Linked DNA regions of Homo sapiens: all the other regions are linked to region 2. Evidence: promoter capture Hi-C in 16 types of primary human blood cells and fetal thymus (Javierre and others, 2016). All regions are on one chromosome and are shown on one strand. Each heading gives the region's core, a stretch centred on a gene start or on the middle of the fragment in contact. The rest is flanking DNA. Distances are from core to core; before and after follow the strand shown. Region 1 overlaps DHRS12 (dehydrogenase/reductase 12). Region 2 holds the start of NEK5 (NIMA related kinase 5). Region 3 overlaps TMEM272 (transmembrane protein 272). Region 4 holds the start of VPS36 (vacuolar protein sorting 36 homolog).

What was found. The method cuts DNA at HindIII sites, captures the fragments that hold promoters and counts their contacts. A CHiCAGO score of 5 or more calls a contact.
Region 1: a fragment that was not itself captured here is called in contact with the fragment with the promoter of NEK5 in region 2 in 1 of 17 cell types (naive CD4 T cells); the score reaches 6.5 in naive CD4 T cells.
Region 3: a contact is called between a fragment that was not itself captured here and the fragment with the promoter of NEK5 in region 2, in 9 of 17 cell types (erythroblasts, naive CD4 T cells, naive CD8 T cells and 6 more). The highest score is 7.8, in erythroblasts.
Region 4: the fragment with the promoter of VPS36 here is called in contact with the fragment with the promoter of NEK5 in region 2 in 7 of 17 cell types (erythroblasts, M0 macrophages, M2 macrophages and 4 more); the score reaches 8.4 in erythroblasts.

Annotation. Positions count from the first base shown.
Region 1 is chr13:51,796,551-51,799,250 of GRCh38, reverse strand. The region is part of intron 2 of DHRS12 (dehydrogenase/reductase 12); the gene reads left to right. Among named protein-coding and RNA genes, the nearest start is that of DHRS12, 6.3 kb to the left of the region's middle. RefSeq lists enhancers at 1,520-1,599, 1,670-2,198. The HindIII fragment of the contact is 1,445 bases long and covers 578-2,022 here.
Region 2 is chr13:52,127,714-52,130,413 of GRCh38, reverse strand. It overlaps NEK5 (NIMA related kinase 5), which reads left to right and starts at 1,341. Exons shown (of 24, transcript NM_001365552.1): 1 at 1,341-1,385. It overlaps LOC101929657 (a long non-coding RNA gene), which reads right to left and starts at 1,519. Exons shown (of 2, transcript NR_110306.1): 1 at 1-1,519. The HindIII fragment of the contact is 11,669 bases long and covers 1-2,700 here.
Region 3 is chr13:51,830,524-51,833,223 of GRCh38, reverse strand. The region is part of intron 2 of TMEM272 (transmembrane protein 272); the gene reads left to right. Among named protein-coding and RNA genes, the nearest start is that of TMEM272, 13 kb to the left of the region's middle. The HindIII fragment of the contact is 4,301 bases long and covers 1-2,700 here.
Region 4 is chr13:52,449,185-52,451,884 of GRCh38, reverse strand. It overlaps VPS36 (vacuolar protein sorting 36 homolog), which reads left to right and starts at 1,251. Exons shown (of 14, transcript NM_016075.4): 1 at 1,251-1,386. The coding sequence starts at 1,291. RefSeq lists silencers at 1,005-1,064, 1,105-1,564 and an enhancer at 1,085-1,665. The HindIII fragment of the contact is 2,912 bases long and covers 1-1,870 here.

The DNA of each region.
Region 1 (2,700 bases), core at 51-2,550, 330 kb after region 2:
GACATCAGAATCCCCAGTGGAATTTAATTAAAAAAACAAAAACAAAAACATGAACACCTGGTCTCTAACTCATGTCTTCTCAATGAGACTCTCCTGGGGTGAGAGACAAGGGGAGGGGGAGCCTCAAAGTCCACTGCAATTTGGATGTGGATGGTAGTTATGAACCAAGGCCCCCAAAATACCTGGAGAGAGGAGTGCATTGAACTAAACTTCCTCCTTGCTGGGGTCCAGCCTCCAGGGCTAGAGCAGCCTCCCGCTTCCCTCCCCTAAGCTTGACTATAAAGAGGTGCTTCAGGTGCACTGTAAAGTCTTCAGTCAGCAGAAGTCTTCCTCATGGTAAATGCCAGAATTTCCTGCATGAGCTCAACGATCCTGGGTCACCAAATGGCTCTGCAGTGGCTAGAAAAGTTTGCTGCATCTCTCCAGAGCCTCTTCAGGAAAAATGGATGTTCCAGCAGAAGGTGGGGAACTAGGTTGTGAATTTATCACTTTTTAAGATGCTGAAGATGTTTTCTTTTTTCCTCTCTCTAAATCCAAGTTAGGCATTTTTCAGGGGACTATTATATCATTTGAAGCTTTATTTAATTATCTGCCAAGTCAGGGAGAGGATTAATTGCATCTTAGCAGCTGGGAAGCACTCTGAAGTGCGGAGAGGAGGAGAGAAGAGGGGCTAGTGTTGTGGTTAGCCTGTAGCCTCCCATGAAACACCCCATTTAATCAAGTGGGTGATTTTTAGTAAAGAAAGCAGACTCCATAACGATTCGTTCTTAGCTGCCACGGCGAAGGCATTCTGCTTTAAATTGACCTTGATTGATGATGGTGTGGCATTTGCTGGGATAATATGAGGGCTGCTGATGGACTCAACATTCAGTCAATACTTGAGTCTCTACTACATGCTAGGCAAGTGGCTGTCTACTTTGGCTGAACATTACATCACCAGGGGAGCTTGTAAAACATACCCAGTCCTGGGCCTATCGCCTAGATCTTTAAAAGCTCCCTACATGAGTCTAAAGTGCAGCCAGGTTTAACACATCTGGGTCAGCTACTATGCTAGATGCTAGGGAGGCATATGTGACCCAGATCAATGTTTCTTATCCTTGATGTGTTCAGGCCCTCAAAAAATCAGGATGTTATTCCAGACGCACTGTCAGCACAGGTAGGCAATAAGGTTCCAGCACCTCCCTCACCATCGCCCTTGCTGCTCTTAACTCTGGGAACCACCCATCTAGGCTTAACAGAAGAGTGTCAACTGTGAGCCCATATGTCTTCATTTTTCATTAGGAAGAGCTGGTTTCTGTAGCTCTCGCTGTAACTCACAGATGGTTTCATTGAATTCCACCAGGTGGCACAGTTCACCTGGTTTGTCGAGATCAAGCCCCAGCAGAAGATGCCAGGGGTGAGATCATCCGGGAGAGCGGTAACCAGGTGAGCAGCTCCTCACCCCTCCTGCTGGGTTTCCTTGCCTCCATGGTCAGCTGTGAGGAGGCTGGACTCCTACCCGCTTTCCCTGGGTTGAAGAGGGCCTGTGTTTGTGCTTCTGCTTTGGAAGCAGCCTCGGCCAGCAGGGAGCTGGGCCCTGCTTTTGAATGGCTAGGTTTGACAAGGGGATAAGTGGGGGCACTGAGGCTTGACCGCATGGTCCTGAGCTGCCTGTGAAACCAGCAGAGGCCAGCAGGCAGAGGCCCATTACACTGGACAGTGATACTTCCAGTCTCCTCACCTCAGAGGGAGCCCACATCAGCAACACACAGCAAGGGTCACCCGGGTGCCACGGAGCCATGCATTGACCCGATGTGCTCTAATAAAGAGAAACACCGGCAGCATTTGGGTCTTGATGAGAGCTACTTTCTGACACGAGCCTTCAGAGCTGCCTCACATTTTGTGGTCTTTCTGTTCTGAAAGAGCTGGAACCAGGATTGGCTACATAATTAGTGGGGCTCGGTGCAAAATGAAAATGCAAGACCCTTGTGTAAAAGTTATTTAGAATTTCTACACAACAAAGGCAGGACATTAAACCAAGCTTGAGGCCTTTCCAGTCGCAGGGCGTGTGCAGCTGTATAGATCATATTCCCATGATCCATCGTGTAGCCATAAGGCTGCCCTGAATGGAAAACCCTGACCCCCAAAAGGACCCTCAGTCATGGCTGCTCGCTCACTGTCACTAAAGAACATCCTCATTCCATTCCTACCTCTTCTCTAGGAGACCCCACAATTGGAGGGCCTGTAGGAGGGAAGCTGGGGAGGGACAGACAGTACCCACCCTCAGGCATGGACCCTGGTCAAAGAGAAGAATGCCCCTCTCTAGGATGGAATATTTTGCATCAACTTTGAAATAACATTTTCACACCAAGTGTCTGTTCCTTTCCCTTTCTCATGGAAATCCCCAGTCTCATGCCATCAGGTGCCTTACAGAGGCTTAGTGCTGGCGGCAAGTGTGAGGGTCTCTAAATCTTCCTCTAATGTCTGCAAGTGCCGCTGCGATCTGCGGGCTGCAGTTCTCGAGATTGAAAGCTGGCTGTCTGCCTGCTGATAACTTTCGGTGGTGCTGCTGCAGGATGCAACAAGAATACTAATCTCAGGCCACGGACAGGAGGAGGTTTGCCTGGATTCCAGCCTGCTGTGGTGTGGGCCACAGGCTTTAAAAAGTATATTTAAATGAAAAATGATGATAATATGGATCTGTTTGGCTTATATCTAATT
Region 2 (2,700 bases), core at 92-2,591:
TATTTTTTATATTTAATAATTATCAGTATTGTGATACATTTTATTGTGATCAATTGTGTAGTACTAGTAATTTTAACAATTTAATCCAGAAAAACTAAAATTCTATGAGCAGGAAATATAAATTTCCATTTCTGTACTTCTTTCAGCAGTATGATAGGATGATCAATAAGACTTTCAAGTATGAAAAAGATAACGGGTAAAATTCTATCAGGAAAGTAGAATGAAGATATGATTTAATGAAGCATGTCTAAGAATTCTAGGGAAGAAATTTGGGTGTGGTCACTGACACGTGTAATTAAACAAAAACAAGTAGATCATATACCTACTAATATTTTGAGGGAATTTCACTGCCAAAGAAACTAACATTGGATATTCCAACTGCTAAACAACTTTTGGACTCCTGCTACGGGCTGCATTCACCCCCGCCGCGGCCACCCCCAATTCACACACTGAAATCTAACACCAATAACTAATAATGAGACTATATTCGGAGACAGAGACTTTAAAGATGCAATTAGATCAAAATGAGGCCTTTAGTTCAGCCCTAATCCAACTTGACTAGAGTGCTTACAAGAAGAAGAAATTTTTTGTGGCAGGGACGGGGAGGGGGCGGCGGAGAGATGATTTTAAGAAGGAAGAGTAATGATGTAAACTTAGGATTTTTAAGAGTTTTTTGTGGGTTTTTTTTGTGTGTGTGTGTGAGGTGGACGATGGAGGGTACCATATTACTGTAGTGTTTCGATTCAGTTGGATATATTTAACTTGCGTCACTATTTACAATTGCTGAAAATTACATTTTTTTCAACTACTTAAACATTTTAGACAGCAGCTTGATGTGCAAATCCAGAATGGGGCAGGGTGGGATGAGCACTGGGCGTGAGTGCAGACGCTTGGGCAGCGCCGGTTTCGTTAGAAAGTCCCTTGGCAGGCCGCCGCTGTGGCCCAAAGAGTAGGAAGCCGTTCCAGTCTCACGTCCACCTTTTGGCAATATTTGAGACCTTGTACAAGAAACACTCTTCCTGTATCAGTTTAGCTCATTTGTAAAACTGGGAGACTACTGCCTTGACGGGTTGTAAAGAAAAGAGAGAACGTTTGCGAAGCGTCTGGTGCACCTTAAGCAAGAGCGGGGAGCGCTACTGTAGACTGCAAAGCAAAGGAATCCCGACCCAAGGCAACGGGACGGTTGCGGGGTGACTCTGCCGGGTCTCCAAACTCCCTGGCGCCTGACCCTGCCTCGAGGTGGACTGGTCCCCAGGCCATTCCAGACCCGCGCCCCGCCCGCGTTTCCTTGCGCGGCTCCGCCCCGGCCGCAGGGAGGCGCAGCGGCCCCGGGAACCCGGATCCTTCCGGGACGCTTCGTTGGCCCCGCGGAGCCGGCGGAGCAGGTACGCTTGCAGGGGCCGCCCTTAGTTCTTGCCCGGAGCCGCCACAGGGCTTCGGGAGCTCGGCAGGGTGGGGGAAAGGGATGGAGTTTCGGCCTGGGGCGGCGGGGGCGGCCCAGAAAAGGCCTAGCGTCCTGGGCTGTGTGGGTGTAGCGTCCAGGGCGCGTCGGTCTCTATGGCAACGCTCCACACGCGGAGGTCGGGTACGGGTAAGCGTCTTGCCACTCACCCGCGGCCGCTTCCAGGGGCGGCCCTAGGGGAGAAGGAATTTTCCTAATTTGGGGGCTTCCACCCTTTGGTGCCACTTGGGCGGGAGGGTCGCGGGCCCTCAGTTCCCGGCGAGTCACCCCCGGCCCCAAGTCCGTATGCGTCTCTCTCAGAACCCGATCCTCCGGTGTCTGCAGCCTCTCCTGGCTGCGGAGCTGGTTCCCAGCCCCCTGCAACCCAGTACCGACTTCCCACCCTGACGTAAAATTATTCGAAAACAAGCCCCCTGCTCACCCCATTAACAACAACAACAAAACTGTATTATGCCCTAACTGTAGCATAAAGAGGAAATAGAAGGAAAGCAATAAGTAAGAAAGTACATATTTCAATCTGAAAATGCTTGGCACTACTACCCTTGGAAAATGTAGAGAAGTAGCCAGTAGCCGCGCCTGGGGAGTCGCCTGAACGTGACGGCAGCAAATGCAGATTGTTGGGTCTCCGGGACCAGGAGCAGCGTGGCCAGTGAAGCGCGTGGTTTTCCCAAATGGTGAACAATTCTTGGTAAACCTCCAAACCGAAGTGCAATCAAGCCTTGATTTACATGTAGTTGCATTCCTCGAAAAAAAAAAGAAGTGTTCATTAAAACTGCAAAAATACTTAGCATTTCGATGTAAAATAGAGTTTGGTTCTAGCCACAAACGGATTTTTCCACGCACAGGAATGTATAGGAAGACTCTCCAAGATTGTAGGGCCGCGGGGTAATCCTTTATTGTGCGGGACTGTCTCTCGAATCGCAGAATCCTACCATCTCAGGCCCCAACCACCTGTAAACCTCATGCCTCTGAATCTTGGGGAAACAGCTTCCCCACCCCCATATATTTCCAGAATTCCCCCTAGGGGGCAGTACGTCCCCACTAAGAAAGGCTGAACTATAAAAGTGCACAAGCCTAAGGACATTCCTGCTTTATAAAGGTGCGAAACACCGGATATAGTATCTTTCATTCTCAGAACAAACTTGCAAAACAGGTATTGTTATTCCATTTTAGAAATTAGGAAAGTGAGGTTTTGCCAGGTTAAGTGACTTACCCGAGAATACAGGGCAAAAGTGTAT
Region 3 (2,700 bases), core at 54-2,553, 300 kb after region 2:
GGATGATGGACGCTCAGCTCCATTTCATGATTTGCCACTCCCCCAAACCACTCTGAGTGTCTCTGTCTCTCAAATCTTTTGTTTCCTCTGGGCTTTTTTCCTTTGACAGAAAAGCCATCTCCCCACAACTCAGCCCGTCAAAAATCCTACCCATCCATCAACACCCAGTACCAATATCACCTCCTCCTTGAGGCCTTCCTTGATTTCCTGGGGACTCTTTCCTCCTCCAGGCTTCCTCACTGCATTGTGCGCTGCCCCTGCTGGTCCCTTCCACACACTGATTTGTACTGTCCCTTGGGTGCACATCTCATCTCCCTTAAGAGGTGGTGAAGTCCGCATTGCCGAGGCTTCTCATGCTCACTTTGCATCTACCCAAACCTTGGTCGAATGCAAGAATGAATAGCTGAATATCTATAAAGAAGTTCATCTATATTCAAAGGGGATTAAGTGCTAATAAAAATACCCCCTCATGCAAATTGCTATTGGCTGTGACCTCTGGGGATTAGTGGGTGGCTGTGGCAATGCAGGGTGCTTGTGCAGGGCTGGAGAAGAGGGGTGGGTGGAAACGAGGCAGAGGCAGAATGACTGAACATACCAGGAGAGGGCAGAAGTGGTTTGGGTGACTGGGGTTTGGGCACCATTACAGATACAGGGAGGTGGAAAGGGCAGTTTGGAAAGAGGAGTTTAGTTTGAGTTTCTCTTCCTGCACTCTTTGCCAGTTGCCTTCTGGGTATTTGATAGCTCAGTGGAGCCCCGAAGGATGGTGTTGCAGAGAAAAACTGCTGGGTCCCAGTCTCAGTTTCTGCACTAAACTAAGCAAAAGATCTGGGGATATATTAATACTTGCTATTCATAGGAAACAGACTCCGGAGATCCTTGAGAACAGACCAAAAGCTACCCACTTTTCCTATCAAGATTACCCATTTAAAAATGCATTGAATTCTCCCAGCTACCTATTTTGACTGATAACCGGATGGCAGCGTATCTTTAACACCTGCTACCATGCTGCTCCCTCTGACAATCACGGGCAGCAGCAATCAGCAGTCGTGAGAGCAGCCCACCCTGAAATGCACTGCAAGAGGGGAGTGAGGATCCAGAGCCAGCAACCCAAAAGCCACCCTGAGGAGGGCACCCTTCCCAATAGTCTGTCTTTTCCCAACCTTCAGTAAGTCAGGAATCAGCCTATCTGTGTTCTTAGCATAAAGAATGACTTGACTCCAACGTTTTGATTCTAATATCCTCCCACTATTGCTCTAATTTTGAATTATTTTCTCCTTTGGACCCTCAAGCTGAGTTTATTTTCACCCAGCTCTTTCAAACTGACTTTCTAGATGGAGACTCTCATGGCATCAGAAGCCAGAATGTGGCACTCTGAGTTGCATTGGAATTGGTGCTCAATAGACCAGAAGGCAGGACAGTATTAACTAGTGGTGGTCACTGCTGTCAAGCCGCTGCAATCGCAACAGCGGCATCACCAGGAAGCTCAGCCTCTGTTCCAGAGAGCTCCAAAGACTGAGGAGTGGGTAACCAGATGCCCCAGGAGGCAGGGGGATCAGGCGAGAGTGGGGCTCCCCAATTCCTGACTGTGGCTTGGGTGTCCTTATTAGGACCAAGTGGTAAAGAAGGCCTCGTGCTGGTAACTGCTGATGATTTCCATCCCAGTGGATCCTACAACCTAGCCCAACCCCAGCACCTCACACCATGCTGAGCAGACAGCTGTAGGAAGCCCCTGAAGATTCTCTAGCCAGCTTACAGAAACAGGCTACGATCACCTGAGAGTTGCTTTTATTTTATTTTATTTAGATGAGGTCTTGCACTGTTGCCCAGGCTGGAGTGCAGAGGCGGGATTATGGTTCACTACAGACTTGAACTCCTGGGTTCAAGCGATCCTTCCATCTCAGCCAGCCTCCCCAGTAGCTGGGACCACAGGTGCACCACCACGCCTGGCTAATTTTTGTGTTTTTTGTAGAGACGGGGTTTTGCCATGTTGCCCAGGTGGGTTTCAAACTTCTGGGCTCAAGAGATCCACCTGCTTCAGCCTTCCAAAATGCCGGAAATACAGGTGTGAGCAACCATGCCAGGGTGGAAGTTGCTTTTAAATGCAGATTTCCAGGCGCCATTTGTACTGATCCTGGTTTGTGAGATCTAGAGCGGCCATTGAGACCCTGAGAGTCATGGCTCTGAGGTGCAGCGAGCAAGAGTGAGCCTCATTAGACTTCGAGCAAGAGTGAGCCTCATTAGACTTTAAGCAAGAGTGAGCCTCATTCGACCTCGAGCAAGAGTGAGCCTCATTAGACCTCGAGCAAGAGTGAGCCTCATTAGATCTCAAGCAAGAGTGAGCCTCTTTAGACCTAGAGTGGTGATCCAGAGAAGCGGACTCACTGGATGAAGCCAGGGCACAGCCTGAGAACAGGGCCAGGGAGTAAGGCCGCATCCACTTGGGAGTTAAGGTGTAGAACAGTCTCATCTCTGCTCAGACACCATGAGAACCACAGTGTATACCTCACCTGTTGTTTTCTCGATTCTTCATTTGATTCCGAAGTGGGGGCTGAAATAAAGGGGAAGCCTGGGTCTCCTTCCATCAGGAATGGAAAATAATAATAGTAATGATAATGGCCAGCATTTATCGGTGTTTATTATGTGCCAGACCCTGCGTTTAGTGCCCTACACAGATTATGCAGATTATGACATTTGATGATT
Region 4 (2,700 bases), core at 2-2,501, 320 kb before region 2:
TCGCTCAGACTGGAGTGCAATGGTGCGATCTCGGCTCACTGCAACCTCTACCTCCAGGGTTCAAGCGATTCTCTTGCCTCAGCTTCCCGAGTAGCTGGGATTACAGGCACCCGCCACCACGCCGGGCTAATTTTTTGTATTTTTAGTAGAGACAGGGTTTCTCTATGTTAGCCAGGCTGGTCTCGAACTCCTGACTTGTGATCCGCCCGCCTTGTCCTCCCAAAGTGCTGGGATTACAAACGTGAGCCACCGCGCCCGGCCAGGTGTTCCATTTATAAAGCAAAATACAAAAATGAAATGGCTAGGGGCACGAGGCCGCCTGGTGGGTGAGAGCAGCGGCCATGGATGGCTTTGCGCAGACCAACAAACAGCTAAATTATAGAGGAACTACATATTGAAATGTAAATTCACGCATGAGGTCTGTATTAATATTGAAAATGCCTAAATAAAAATAATCTTTTTTTTCTGAGCCTGGGGGTGGGGGAGTGGAGTGGCGTGGGGGAGTTGGGGTGGAGGGGGAAAGGGTCTTTCTATGTCGCCCACTGGTGTCAAACTCCTGGGTTCAAGCAATCCTCCCGCCTCAGCTTCGGAAGCAGCTGGGAATACAGGCGCGCGCATCAAGCCCGGTTAAATAAAATCTGTTTCCCCCAGTTAAAAAAAAATTAATTTGTGTGGGTACATAGGTGTATATATTTCTGGGGTATATGGGATATTTTGATACAGGCATACACTGTATAATAATCACATCAGGGTAAATGAGGTATCCGTTACCTCAAGCATTTATCCTTTGTGTTACAATATAATCTTAAAGGGAAAAAAAGAGCAGCACAGGTAGTACTGACTGCAGCTGTACAGAAACAATGCGTGCCATAAATATTCATTTGAAAGAGAGGGGTTATGATTATTTACAATCATTAGCGAATGTAGCAACATTCTGGGCACTGACAAGAAAACTGCCACAAACATGCAGGCATAATGCACAATAAGCAAGTCCAAGCTGTGGTCGGGGCTCCCTCGCGTCCCTGTAAGCTCTGAATTTAGAATGGGGTGGACCGCCTGCTGATCAAGGGTTCTGAAAGGCCGGCGGCTAATGGACCGCCAGGGGGCGCTCCACGCACGTCTCCACGTCCCCGGGCGCACCTCGCAGCCGCGCCCGCTCGCTGCCAGGCCGCTCCCTCCGTCCCTCACCCGCCCCGACTCGCTTCCGTCCCGTCCGACGCTAGGGGGCGCCGCAGGCTGCCTGGCGCGCTGCTCGCGGCCTCGGAGGGCCGGGGCTGGGTGGCAGCGGCCATGGACCGCTTCGTTTGGACCAGCGGCCTCCTGGAGATCAACGAGACCCTGGTGATCCAGCAGCGCGGGGTGCGAATCTACGATGGCGAGGAGAAGGTAGGGCGTCTGCCAACCTTCCCAACGGGCTGGCGGAAGGGACCCCCGGTGGGCGCGCGGCCCGGCTCAGCGCGGCCCGGGTCGGCGCGGCCCGGTCCCCGGCTTAGCTCACGGCCCTCGGCGGCCCGGCAGGCCTCTGTGCGGGGTGCAGCGCTCTTGCGCTCCCCGCCGGTCGGTAGCACGTGGCGTGGGGCGCTCGGCTGCCTCCCCAGCGCGGGTCCCAACTTTGGCACGGTTCCCAGCAGGCGCGGATCGCGGCCGCTTCCCTCCGCCCGGAATGCTTCCGGGAGCGCACAGCTGCAGTGCCCGGGAGAAGGAGCGCTCGCCGTCTGCGGGCGCCGGGCGGCGATCCGGCAGTCGACTTCCTTGGCGTGGTTCCAGACCCCCTGACGACACCAACCTCGGCGTCGGCACCGGACAGCCCCGTTTCGCCTTTCTGTGAGGAGGGCGCGGTGGCCGTACAGTCCGTGCCCCAGCGGAAGCTTTAGCTTGGACCTTATGCAGTCGGAGGGATTAGCATATCTGGGCAGAGGGGTGAGGGATTGCTTCGAAAGGATTTCCTAAAGAGGTATCAGTGCTTCATTGGAATGCCCTTGCCAAAGGCTATTGGGTTTTTGTTTTGTTTTCTAATTGCTTTAGAAAGGCGTTCTGAGCGTGTTTTGTAAAGTGTTATATTAATAGTAGACCGTGCCTTGTAGTGCAAGCATAAATCTTAGAAGGTGCGTTTGCAAATCGAGAGGAGAAATAGGAAGTGTAAGTAAATATTTTGTAGATACTTTACTGAAACTATGAAATATCTTGTCCTGGATTGAAATGGATAAACTGGAATTAGAAAAATTTTAAAACTCATTTACCCACAAGCATTTTTGGTTTCCAGAAGTTTTAATTTGCTACCTCTCTTCCCTTGCCGTTTTATTAACGACACTTTCCGCTGTACTTTGATATAAGTTCCTCAACTCAGCTTTTCCTGGTAAGTGCTTACAGCTATTTAGAGGCACAGGTGACATTGGACCCAGGTCCTCTGACTCTCTTAGGGCATTTTCTATGGGCTGTGTTGCCTGTATTAGTGAGTAAAGGTCTTTTCCTTAAATAATTTGCTTGGACCTAACTTCACTTACTGCCTTAGCACTTCTTAATTTAATTAATTAATTTATTTATTTTGAGACAGAGTCTCGCTCTATCGCCAGGCTGGAGTGCAGTGGCGCGATCTGGGCTCACTGCAACCTCCGCCTCCCAGATTCAAGATCCTGCCTCAGCCTCCTGAGTAACTGGGATTACAGGCGCCTGCAACCATGCCCGGCTAATTTTTGCATA